3 separate regions of the Homo sapiens genome follow, and regions 2 and 3 are each linked to region 1. The links are contacts of gene promoters, found by promoter capture Hi-C in blood cells and fetal thymus (Javierre and others, 2016). All regions are on one chromosome and are shown on one strand. The core of a region is centred on a gene start or on the middle of the fragment in contact, and the rest is flanking DNA. Distances in the headings are between cores, read along the strand shown.

Region 1 (4,063 bases), core at 527-3,026:
GGAGCCTCCCCTGCCAGAACGGCAAAATCTCAGCTGGGGACACTCAGCCAGGCCCTCTGTGGTGAGGTGTGGCAGCAGGTAAGGAGACAGTCACAGGCCCTCCGTCCTGAGACCCGGCCCCTCTGAGTTGACCAGATAAGGGGGCAGCCAGGAGGCACCCAGGTTCCCACAGCTAACCCCCGCTGGACCCTGTTCTGGCTGGGGGGCTCCAAGCAGGTGTCAGCAGCTTTCCAGGGCTCAGATCCCCCATCTGAAGTGTGGGCTTGAGACCTCCTATCTCAGAGGACTGTGCTGGGCTTAAGGAGAGAACGGTGAGCCCAGAAGCCTGGGGAGGCTCCTTCCCCCTCCACCAGGGCCAAGGGGGTGGGGCAGGCAGAGGGGGCGGGCCCAGCCCAGGCTCCTCCATTCATCCCCATAACGTCTTGCTCCAGGGCCCTCTGCCCCCACCCAGCAAATCTCCAGCTACTCGCCCCTGCCCCAGCCTCTCCTTCCGGGAAGGCAGAGGTACCAGGGAGGAGACAGCTCAGGTTACACAGGCCCTCAGGGCCCCTAGACTCTCCCTAAGGTGGGGCTGAGGTGGGGAATGGGCCTAGAGCGGCCGGTTGGGAGCCGTTGGAGCTGACTTTGCTGCTCCTCACCCAAGGCTGACCCCAGGCCCAACCTAAGTCTACAGGGCCCCAAGAGCCTTGGTTTTCAGGTGAGGTGTCCATGCATGGAGTCCACCAACAGAACCCGCCTACAGGTTTAAGGCTTGTTGGGGAGGGGACATGCACCCCAGGGGGTCTTCAGGGCCTGAACCCACATCTCCCAGGGAGACTGAAGCCCCCGGACCCTACCACCTGCTGGGCAGAGATGCTGCCCCTCCTGGGAGCCACGTGTTCCCAGCCCCAGTCAAAACTTCGCAGCTGGCCCTCCCCTACTTTGGAGGTCTCCTCGAGTCCCTAGACTCCTCCGAGAGGGGCTAGTGGGAGCCTCAGGTGGCTGGCCCCTCCCACCCCATCCAGAGGCCAACAGGTTCCAGCCTGTCCCGGGTAGGGCGGAGCTGCGCCCCCTCCCCACCGGCAGCAGGCGGCGGAGGCCAAGTCCCGCCCTCCCCGGGATCCCGGACTTGGGGCCGCCAGGGACTGGGCCCGGCCCCCCTCCCGCCCCGGTCACCGCAGTCGAACTGGACCGGCGCCCAGCCGCCCCCGGGTCCATGCCGGGGACTTTAATTCCGCCTTCCCGGAGGGACGCGAAGTTTCCCGGCCGAGACGGAGCGGCCGGGTCGGGGTGCCTTCTTGGGCCCCCAAAATGCGGAACCAGAGAGTCCGCACCTGGACTCGCCCCGGGCCACGGCGCTCCCCCTGGGGTCGGGCCGGTGTTCCGGGTCCGAGTGCCCCGGGAGGAAGCCCCACGGCCCGCCCCTGCGCTCACCCGGATGGTCTGGTTGGGGTCGCCGCCGGCCACGGGGCCCCCTACCAGCTTGCAGTAAAGGTCCTCGGTGGGGCGCGGGGAGCCGCGCGCCGGGGCCTCCTCTCCGCAGGTCGCGGAGGCGGCGATGCGGGCGCCCTCGGCCAGGTTGAAGTAGGGCGGGTGCAGGCTGAAGCCGCCGCCCGCCTCCTCCCGCGCCCGCGCCGCGCCCAGCAGCGCCAGCCCGACCAGCAGCAGCGGCGCGGGGCCCCGGGGGCCGCGAACACACAGTGCGCTCCCCGCGCAGAGCCGCTTCGCCATCTTCCCGGCTCCGGGCCGCGTCCCCGAGCTCCAGGGACAGCGCGCGCGGCGGGAGCCCGGCGGGTCTGAAGCCAGGCGGCCGGCAGGGCTCGCTCCGCCCGCGGACGTCAGGCCCCGCCCCGGCCCGCCCGAGCGCCCGAGCCCCGAGCCCCGGGGAGAGGTCCGGGGAGGCGGGGTGGGGGGGGGAAGGAGAGAGGAGGGGGAGGGGCGGCCGGGCGGCCTTAACCCTTCGGACCCCGGCCCGGCCGCCTCCCGGAAGGGGCACCTGCTGGCCTCGGGCCAGGCCGTGGGACGACGGCGCCGCCGGGCCCCCAGCCCAGGTCGTAGCTCCGGGTCCCGGGTGGGACCCTAGCGCTCCCCACGACGCCCTGGCCCCCAGAGCGCCCACCAGCTCCTCCCAGCCCAGGGGCCCACTCTTTGTTCCCCTAACTTGGGTGCACCACTCGGCTGCCCCCGCTCCTCCCCCAACAGCGTCCGTCCTGCTGGCTGCGGGAAGGTGCCCTCTGCACCCGCGAATGACCATCTGCAGAGGAACGGGGCAGCCTAGGTGGGAACCCCCTGCTTCCTGGGGCAGCCAGGTCAGGTTCAACTCGGCCTGGCTCCCGCCTGCCCCAGCAGGGCTTAAAAATACTCTCAGATAGGGAAATAGGGGCAGGAGGGACTGGCCTGCAGCTGCAGCCCCCTTTAGAGGACGGGGGCGGTGCTCATGGCCCCACAGCCGCCAAATTGGCTCTTAAGGAGGTCGGGGGCTCTGGTCACAGCTGCTGAGCACCTGCTGGGTGCCTGGAAGCACCTGTGCTCCGGGGCCCGGTGGACTCCACCAGCTCTCTCGGCCTGGCCTCCAACCCGCTGCACAGCCGCGCACGCGTTCCTGCCACGATCGGCGGCTCGAGGACGCCTGGCAAACAGCACAGGACCTAGAGGCCGAGATCAGGTCTTCGTCTGCCTTTGGGTGGCTGCGGCCCTGGGTCTCCTACTTCCCTTGGGCTCCGGGGCCAAATCTGCCTCCAGGGAAGCCCCGAGGGGGTGGCGGCGGGGTGGGGCTGCAGCTGCCGAGCTGGCAGCAAACCCCCATCCCTGAGCCAGGCCAGCTGGGCGGGCCATGGTCCCAGATGGGCTGTGGGGCTCATCTCTCGCTGGGTTCCCTGGACAGTCCCGGGGGGCTGGGTGGGTTTGTGGGGCACTGGCCAGCCGGTTCTGGTGGGGGTTCTGAGCTAGCAGCTGTCCCTGGAGGGTGCACCTCCTTGCACACCTTCCTGGCGCCCTGGCCTCCTGCAAATCTCAAATCCCAAGAGGGTGTATGGCCCTTTCTCTACGGAGTCGGGAGGGCGATGGGACCCTCTCTCCCTCCTCCTACTTTCCGGCCCGGCAATTCTTCCATAACTTCACTATTAGTTCTCCCACCTGGGGGAGGGGGGAGAGGAGGCGGCTCCCCTTGGCAGGAGAAGCTCCAAGTGGGGGAGGGGCTGGCTGGAGAGGGGGCGGAGACATCAAGGAATCTGCAGTCCAGGCGCAGAGTCCGGCTCTGAGCTGCTTTAGATCCCGTGTGAGGCAGAGAGTGGCCTCTGGGCAGTAGCGGGTCCCCAGGTGGGGGCTTGGCCCCAGGCAGTGTGCTCTGGCTCTGGGCTCCCCCTTGACAGCTTGGGGCTCTGACAGCCTGGGGGACTGGAGGTGGAGACTCCTGAGACCCTGAGGGCTTCTTGGGATCCCTGGAGGGTCGGGTGGTTGGAGGGGTGGGATTGCGAGTGGCGGGGCAGGGGGAGAGGTGGGGGTGGGGAGAGCACTTTAAGCCTCCTAGCGGCCAGATCAGGCCAAGCTGCCAGGCCTCCGCTGTCCCCCGGCACTGGCCAGGAGGGGAGCGGGGGCCGGCCCTGAGAATGCGCTGTGTCAGCCGGAGCTGCCAGCACCAGCAGGGTTAATCACCGGGCTCACTGCTTCCCGGCAGACAGCTGCCCCGGGAGCAACTGGCAGGCAGGCGGGCAGCGCAGTGGACAAGAGAATGTGGCCCAGGGGCTGGGTAAAGAGCCCACACTCTGCCCCCACCCTGTGTCTGCTGGTGCACGGACTGGGAAGGAGGCAGCTGGGGCAGGAGCTGAGCGTATGGAGGGCGGGGGGGCTGTCCCAGCCGGGCTACACACAGGGGGTTGGGGAGGTGAGCAGGGAGAGGGGCAGCTCATCTCTGCACACCCCCACCCCTGCTGTCTTTGTCATGGTTCCAGTGAGTCATCACCAAATGGACCAGCGAGCCTGTCTCCTTGTCTTTCTGAGTCCTGCGCAGCCCAGCCACCTCTTCTATTTACAAATGGGGAAACTGAGGCCAAAAAGGCCAGGGTCAATCAAGAGCACACAAGTT
Region 2 (4,063 bases), core at 1,084-3,583, 87 kb before region 1:
AGGTGTATTCACAGTTCCGGAACAATTAAAAGCTGACATTTTGATTGAAAAAGAGAGTACACTAAAAATCCTGTTCCTGGACAGGAGTATTTTGGGGTATAAGCCATTCCATCTCGGAAATTTCAGGGGCCTTGTAGAAAGACAAGGAAGGGGCACCCCCTTCAGAAAGGGTTTAGGGTCCTGAGTTCCTGGGCAATGGGAGTCCCTCGGGGTTGAGGGTTTGGAGTCAGAGGTGTGTAAGGATTGCTTCTCCACCTGCGTCTCTGGGTACCTCTAGCCAGACACTGCTGTGGCTCAGGTGGAGAGCAAGCGGGGCATCAGGGTGGAGGCCTCTCCTGCACCATTGCGCTCTCTGGGTGGGTCAGATGTGCTCTGGAAGCCATGTGTGTGTGTGTCTGTTGCCAGCGTTAGGCCAAGTGCGATGTCATGTTTGTGTGTGTGTCTGTTGCCAACGTTAGGCCGAGTGCGATGTCATGTTTGTGTGTGTGTCTGTTGCCAGCGTTAGGCCAAGTGCGATGTCGTGTTTGTGTGTGTGTCTGTTGCCAACATTAGGCCAAGTGCGATGTCGTGTTTGTGTGTATGTCTGTTGCCAACATTAGGCCAAGTGCGATGTCATGTTTGTGTGTGTGTTGCCAACGTTAGGCCAAGTGTGATGTCATGTTTGTGTGTGTGTCTGTTGCCAACATTAGGCCAAGTGCGATGTCATGTTTATGTGTGTGTTGCCAACGTTAGGCCGAGTGCGATGTCATGTTTGTGTGTGTGTCTGTTGCCAACGTTAGGCCGAGTGCGATGTCATGTTTGTGTGTGTGTCTGTTGCCAATGTTAGGCCAAGTGCGATGTCATGTTTGTGTGTGTGTTGCCAACGTTAGGCCAAGTGCAATGTCATGTTTGTGTGTGTGTGTCTGTTGCCAACATTAGGCCAAGTGCGATGTCATGTTTGTGTGTGTGTTGCCAACGTTAGGCCGAGTGCGATGTCATGTTTGTGTGTGTGTTGCCAACGTTAGGCCGAGTGCGATATCGTGTTTGTGTGTGTGTCTGTTGCCGTTAGGCCGAGTGCGATGTCATGTTTGTGTGTGTGTTTGTTGCCAACGTTAGGCCAAGTGCAATGTCATGTTTGTGTGTGTGTGTCTGTTGCCAACGTTAGGCCAAGTGCGATGTCATGTTTGTGTGTGTGTCTGTTGCCAACGTTAGGCCAAGTGCAATGTCGGAGAGGTGGTGTTGGGTGTTTCCGCCACATGTTGTGGCATGGAGGGCCCCTGCTTCCCAGCGTCCTGTGAGGGGCTCCACATGATGTCTGAGCTGCCCTTTCTTTTATTTTGCTGCCATTAATGTGTCTCTCTTTTTTATTCTTTGACCTAGGGAAGATTTAGGATTCAGATTTATATCGGAACAGGTCAGTCACCACCCCCCCATCAGTGCGTTCCACTCGGAAGGTCTCAACCATGACTTCCTGTTCCATGGCTCCATCTACCCCAAGCTCAAGTTCTGGGGCAAAAGCGTGGAGGCGGAGCCCCGAGGCACCATCACCCTGGAGCTGCTCAAGTGAGTGTCGGTGCGTCCTGCTGAGATCCGCTTCCTGCAGAAACTGAAATGGGTGCTGGTGATGTGGAGGGAAAGCTTCCTTCAGGAGGAAACCCTGTCATTTTTCTCCTGAGGTGGGGACCTCCCCACAGCAGAAACGTCTTCAGATGAGCTTCCTGACCAGGGTCCCGTGTTGCTGGGGTGCGTCCTCACGTCTGCAGTTGGAATTCGCCCCCCTTTCGGTCACATCATTCATTGTATGACCAGGGTCCCATGTTGCTGGGGTGCATCCTCACGTCTGCAGTTGGAACTCACCCCGCTTTCCGGCATCATTCATTGTATTTCTTGTCTTTTGCTGCATAACTGTCCCAAACTTAGCAGCTTCCACACCAGGCTGGCAGGTGTCTGAGGGCCGGGGACCGTGAGGTTGCGGTGGCAATGAGGGTTGGGTTGCCCATGGCGCCTGTGTCCTGGCTCCCCTTCTGGGCTGCTTGCTGCAGGGCACTGCCTCCCACAGGGGGAGAGAGCTGAGAAGGAAGCCAGGGAAGTGGCCCTTTGCACACTCCCCCACCCTGTGCTCATGTGGCAGGGGTGACTTAGGGTTGGAATTTGAAACAGCGTGGGAGGGGACCCTCTGAGAGGCTGCTTGCCACCCCTCTTCACTCTCAGCCTAAATGCTCCCCAATCCAGTGTCAACCAAAGACACCTCAGAGCAAAACACAAGTCTCCAACAAATGCCGGCCGCTAAGACCCGACAGACACAGACCGGATGCTGGCGTCCTCCTGGGCCACCAGTTCTGAGACGTGAGTCTTGCCAAGCCACTGCCTGCAGTCTTGTTGTAGGCAGCAGGTCCTAACAAATACATACAGAAATAAGTAATAAACGACACCTTGCCTGATGAAGCATTTGATTTGGGTTTTGCTTCACATTGGCCCTGCCTGGATGGTGGCTAGAAGGTTCCACAAGGACCTGGAGAAGCCCCTGAGAGTGTGTCCTGGGGCTGGTATGGCCGAGTGCCTGTTGTGCAGTGGCCTTGCTTAATTAAGAGGCATGCAGAAATGAGAAGTTGCACACCTTGCTGATAAAGTTGCACACCTTGCTGATAACCTTGCTGATGAACCAGTTTGGGTTCCACCCCCAGGAAATTGAGAGAATTCCAGACGTGTGGCAAAATACCCTGCTCTGAGCAGATTTCTGCCTTCACTGTGGCTCCCCCACGTAGCACCTTAGAACATAGGGCTGCTGATCTGCTGCCTCACATTGGTGGGGTGTTTTCTTCTTGGGCAGGGCCATTTGGGAGGATGAGGAGTAAAGGAAACAAGTATGTGGAGTGCGGTTGAAAACCCTGCACCCCTCCACAGCCATGTGCCAGCTCCCCAGAAAGCCAGGGCCGCATGCCCAGGACCCTGCATTACTGCCGTGTGTGTTTCGTGAGGTGGCCTTTCTTTTGACGACTTCACAGGAAAGCCATTTGTCTTTGTTCAGTCTTCTTTGATTGCTTATTAACTTGTCTTGACATTTAAGTAGAAAGCTTTGTAGATGCTACAAAGGAAAGAAGAAGTACATTTCAAACGCATGCTAAATACACAGCCTCCGTCGCAGGGGCTTCAAAGCAGCGTGCTGCTCTCCCGCGGGTGCCGGTTGCTGTGACCCAGCCCCGCCTGGTCGTTGCGTCTTGGGTCACGTCGTGTCTTGGCTTTTCTGGACTCTCACTGCTTGTTTTCTGGTGTCTTCACAGACATAATGAAGCCTACACCTGGACCAACCCCACCTGCTGCGTCCACAACGTCATCATCGGGAAGCTGTGGATAGAGCAGTATGGGACAGTGGAGATTTTAAACCACAGGTGACAGCACCCCACCGTTGGGTGAGAGCGCGAGGCTCCGGGTGGGGATGGGCGAGCCGGGGAGCGTGAGCATCCGTGCTCCTGGTGGGTTTTAGCTCAGCCTCACGAGCTGCTGCCGTGTCCCCGCCAGCCCAGGCATAGCAGCTGCCTAGACTTGACTCTGACCGGTGTTGGCCATGAATGCTCCTCGTTCAAGACCTCGTTTTTCGTCACGGTTGTTACTTTAAGGCTTTGAGCTATGCTGAAGAGCTGTGTCATTGCCAGGTGCAGCGCAGTGGCCGTCCACGGCCGTTGGCCACTGTCTAGGCTTGAATGCCCTATTCCTGGAAGCTCATGACTGGTGGGCTTTGCCTTTTCACCACTTTAGTGAGGTATAATCGATGCATCATAAGACTCGCCCATTCTGAATGGACACTTAAGTGATTTTTAGTAAATTGACCGAATCATGGAGCCGTCCCCACAGCCCATTTCAAACACTTCCATCGCCCCAAAGGCCCACCACACCCATTTGCAGTCACCCCCCGCCTGCCCCAGGGGCCTCCACCGCGCTTCTCCTGTTACAGAGTTACCCTTTCCGGCTGTTTGCTGTCTTGCAGCAGAAACCTGTGTTTGTTTTTCTCACAGAACTGGACATAAGTGTGTGCTTCACTTTAAACCGTGTGGATTATTTGGAAAAGAACTTCACAAGGTGGAAG
Region 3 (4,063 bases), core at 601-3,100, 64 kb before region 1:
TGAAAAGTGGCTACATTTTCCAAAACAAAAAACGTGAATCTTTAGCTCAATCAATGTTTCAAATGGAAGCATTATGACAGTCAAAAGCTGGCAACTAAACATAACTGGCACAAGCTCTGCCACCGAGACAATGGAGGCCTGAGTAGTAGGCTCCCTGCAGAATGAAAGGACTGGAGCTGCCAGCATCAACACCAACGCATCTCCCAACAAGGGTGAGTGAAAACACACACCTAAAGACCTCAGAGAGCACGTAAGCACACAGCTGTGCATCCACTCTGAGGGTGAGCCACCAAGCACACGGTGACCCCGGGGAGCGCCCGAAGGGAGTGAAGTATCTGAAGGAAAGAAGGAAGTGAGCGATGGGCAAAGGAGAACCTGAGGACCCTGGCACAGTCTCAGCTGCAAACATCTAGTCTTGCTTAACTGGGGTGCAGAGGCCACTGCACCTCAGGGTTCTCACGAAGCGCCTGACCTCTCTATTTTATTACTATTATTATTATTATTTTTTTTTTTTGAGAAGGAGTCTTCCTCTGTCGCCCAGGCTGGAGTGCAGTGGTGCAATCTCGGCTCACTGCAACCTCCACCTCCCGGGTTCAGGCGATTCTCGTGCATCAGCCTCCTGAGTAGATGGAATTACAGGCATGTGCCAGCATACCTGGCTAATTTTTGCATTTTTAGTAGAGTCGGGGTTTCATTCACCATGTTGCCCAGGCTGGTCTTGAACTCCTGGCCTCAAGTAATCCGCCCGCCTCGGCCTCCCAAAGTTCTGGGTTTACAGGCGTGAGCCACCGCGCCTGAGCCCTCTAAGAGCCCCCGCCTGGCGTCGCTGTAGGCAAATCCCAAAGAACGTGTCCCTTCAGCAGCCGGCTGGGGCGCCACAAACACTATCTGTTGTCTTCGCTTTAGTTTGTGTCAAAGTGACTCAAAGTTACACAACACTGGCGGGCGACTGCCGCCTTTTTACCCTGTGGCCTTTCCCATCCAGGCGTCCAGAGGGTGAGCCCCTGCCCTCCAGGACCCCTCCCTTCCAGGACCCTACCCGTCTGGGACTCAGGCCTTCCCTGACTCCTCCCTCCCGGACTCACCCCTCCCAGATCCCTCCCCTCCGGGACCCTCTCCCCTCCCGGGCCCCCTCCCCTCCGGGAACCCCTCCCCTCCCGGACTCACCCCTCCCAGATCCCTCCCCTCCAGGAGCCCCTCCCCTCTCGGGACCCCTCTCCTCCCGGACCCACCCCTTCCTGACCCCTGCCCTCCCGGACCCCTGCGGGACTAGATGTATACAGCTGAGACCATATCACGGTTCTCACCCTCGCTCTACCCTCCCGGACCCCTGCTCTCCCGGACGCGTGGACTCCAGCTCCCGCCTGGGTCCCCAAAGCGCTGAACCCATGGTCACTTCTATGCGTAGCCCTGGTGCCCGCCGCCCACAGCCGGACCGCACTCCTCGGCCTCCGCCTAACCCCTGGCTCAGCCACACGAGTGACAGCTCTGCCCGCCCGGGCGGGCGACGCCGAGGGGTGGGCTCGGCCCCACCTGAGCAGTTCCCCAGCGCCCCTCTGAAACCCGCCTGTGGTCCCTGGCGCCGCCTCTAGGGGCCGCCGCCGCTCCCCTATGACACAGCAACAATAGGGGCCGCTCTGGTCCAAGCGCCCTGCGGCCCGCGCTTCCGCCGGAAAAGAGCCGCCGGCGCGGGGGCGGACCGGGGAGGAGCGAGTGCGATGGACGGTCGCCCTCGCCAATCGTTGGCAGGTTAGAGCCGGCTGCGCGGCTTACGGGGCTCAATCGGCGGCGAGAGCGGCAGGCGGGGCGGGCCGAACGCGGGTTTCCGGCGGGGCCCGGCAGGCGCCGAGGAGGAAGAGCGAGCCCGGACGGCGCCTCTCGAACGAGTGTGGGCGCGAGGCAGGTGCGGGAGTCGCCGGGCCTGGGGCGGCCGGGGGCGACCGGAGGCGGGGGCAGGGGCTGCTGGACCAAGGATGGGGCGGGGGCAGCCAAGACGAGAAGGTGGCCGGCGCGGCGGGTGGGGCCTGCGGGGGCCGGGCCGGGCGGGGGTTCTGGGGTCTCGGGCGCCGCCCCGGTTCCGCCTGCGGCTCTGAACGTGGGGCTCGGCGGGAGCTCGGGCGGGTCTGCCCCGCGGAGCGGGTCGCCGGGGTGGCGCGTCGAGGCTGGTGCCCCGCGGAGACGGCGTCAAGCCTAGGGCCGGCCCCACTAGGCTTGGCGGGGCTGCCCCGGCCCAGCGCCGAGTGCGGGCGGTGCGATCGTCGTGAGCGGGGCAAACGCGGAAAGGCAGCCCGGCGTGTCTGAGTCTGCCTTAGGCAGCTCTGGGCGCAGGCCCCCTGCTCGCAAACACCCCAGGGGGCGGGAGCTTGCCGGACCGCAGGCGACAGTGACCGCCGCGTCTCAGCGTCCTCTCCGCGCTTTCAGGATGACGACCTCAGGCGCGCTCTTTCCAAGCCTGGTGCCAGGCTCTCGGGGCGCCTCCAACAAGTACTTGGTGGAGTTTCGGGCGGGAAAGATGTCCCTGAAGGGGACCACCGTGACTCCGGATAAGCGGAAAGGGCTGGTGTACATTCAGCAGACGGACGACTCGCTTATTCACTTCTGCTGGAAGGACAGGACGTCCGGGAACGTGGAAGACGTGAGTGTCCCTGAGCCGCAGCAGCAGGACAGGCGACTTCTCGGGCCCTCGGAGTCCTCGCTTTGGAGTTCGCGGTGGGGGCTTGGCCGCATCTGGGGACCGCTCGTGGGGCCGTCATCGACTGCCCTGCTGATGGGTCGTCCTGGTTTCCGCGGTGACAGGGGCATCTCGGCCACTGTGTATCTTGAACTGTCCGTGTGAGGTGCCTGGGTTGGAGGTGTGGCCCTGGAGAGCCCGGAGCTCTGTGCCTGGCCTTGAACTGTCCGTGTGAGGTGCCTGGGGTTGGAGGTGTGGCCCTGGAGAGCCTGGAGCTCTGTGCCTGGCGGCTTCACTCAGTCTTCTTTGTTTTTCAAACTCTTAGTTGTTCTTTGTTACATTTGAGAGCAGTTCAGCGTTGACTTTTTAACTACTCTGGGAATGTTGTTTCCAGCACGTCTCAGAAACCCCGTTGCCATCTGAAAGGCCCCTTTCCCTGCTCTCTCCCCCGGCCTTGCCTTTCATGGGCTGTCTCTGACCCTGGCTTCTCTGCCTTGTGGAGACCCTGCCAGCGAGGGGTCTGGCGGCTTAGCTGCCCCTTGCGCACCCCACCCGGTTAGACCCAGGGCTCAGTACGCTCTCCTGAGACTGGGCACAGTGATGCCATCTGCGCCACTGACTCTCTCTTCCCCTGGCTTGCCAGGACTTGATCATCTTCCCTGACGACTGTGAGTTCAAGCGGGTGCCGCAGTGCCCCAGCGGGAGGGTCTACGTGCTGAAGTTCAAGGCAGGGTCCAAGCGGCTTTTCTTCTGGATGCAGGTATGGGGCAGGCCTTGGGGTTGTGCCTTTTTGTTGCCCTGCGATTCGGTTAGGAACTTGCTTACAGTGTGGTGCAATTGGCTTTTATAAACCAGCAGGCGCCGGCCACACCCGGCCACACGGCCTGAGATGCCACCTCAGGGCTGCGGTGCATGCTACCTGGGGCCGAGGTCCTCTCCCAGAGTACGGAGGCTCCAGGCTGGGCTGCGGGCAACCGATTGCGGTGTGAAATTTCCAGGCAGACAGACATGCTGGCCCTGGTTCTAACGATGCCCAGTGCCCTCTCTCTGCCCCTTGCCGTGGGTCACTGAGGCCCCCACAGCAGAGGCAGAGGCCCCTGTGTGGCTTCCCTGCTGGTGCTCACAGAAACGAAGCATCCTGCTCACACTTTCCACAGTCCTGCCCCTTCCCTGGCAGTGTGTCCTGGAGGCCAGGGGTGTCAGTGCCCAGGGTTTCTCTTACCCACAGCTGCAGAGCGTCTTTTGGGTCTAGAGGCCGCTGCTCATTCTGCCATCTGTCAGTGACCATTGAGCTTGTTGCCGTTTTTTGTGCTGTTACAGGCAGTGTTGCAAAGAATTTCCCGGTACACAGATCATTTTCCATAAGCCAGTATCATCTGTAGGTGAAAACTG

Evidence for each region. The method cuts DNA at HindIII sites, captures the fragments that hold promoters and counts their contacts. A CHiCAGO score of 5 or more calls a contact.
Region 2: a contact is called between a fragment that was not itself captured here and the fragment with the promoter of LAMA5 in region 1, in 4 of 17 cell types (endothelial precursors, megakaryocytes, total B cells and 1 more). The highest score is 6.7, in endothelial precursors.
Region 3: the fragment with the promoter of ADRM1 here is called in contact with the fragment with the promoter of LAMA5 in region 1 in 2 of 17 cell types (endothelial precursors and naive B cells); the score reaches 6.8 in endothelial precursors.

Annotation. Positions count from the first base shown.
Region 1 is chr20:62,365,536-62,369,598 of GRCh38, forward strand. It overlaps LAMA5 (laminin subunit alpha 5), which reads right to left and starts at 1,777. Exons shown (of 80, transcript NM_005560.6): 1 at 1,414-1,777. The coding sequence starts at 1,710. RefSeq lists enhancers at 582-1,281, 3,380-4,063 and a silencer at 1,461-1,900. The HindIII fragment of the contact is 18,996 bases long and covers 1-4,063 here.
Region 2 is chr20:62,277,798-62,281,860 of GRCh38, forward strand. OSBPL2 (oxysterol binding protein like 2) reads left to right here. Exons shown (of 14, transcript NM_144498.4): 7 at 1,360-1,542; 8 at 3,261-3,368; 9 at 3,993-4,063. Among named protein-coding and RNA genes, the nearest start is that of ADRM1, 23 kb to the right of the region's middle. RefSeq lists an enhancer at 1,136-1,636. The HindIII fragment of the contact is 1,436 bases long and covers 1,616-3,051 here.
Region 3 is chr20:62,301,147-62,305,209 of GRCh38, forward strand. ADRM1 (ADRM1 26S proteasome ubiquitin receptor) reads left to right here and starts at 1,851. Exons shown (of 10, transcript NM_007002.4): 1 at 1,851-1,903; 2 at 2,422-2,635; 3 at 3,315-3,431. The coding sequence starts at 2,423. RefSeq lists silencers at 1,361-1,480, 1,501-1,960. The HindIII fragment of the contact is 19,122 bases long and covers 1-4,063 here.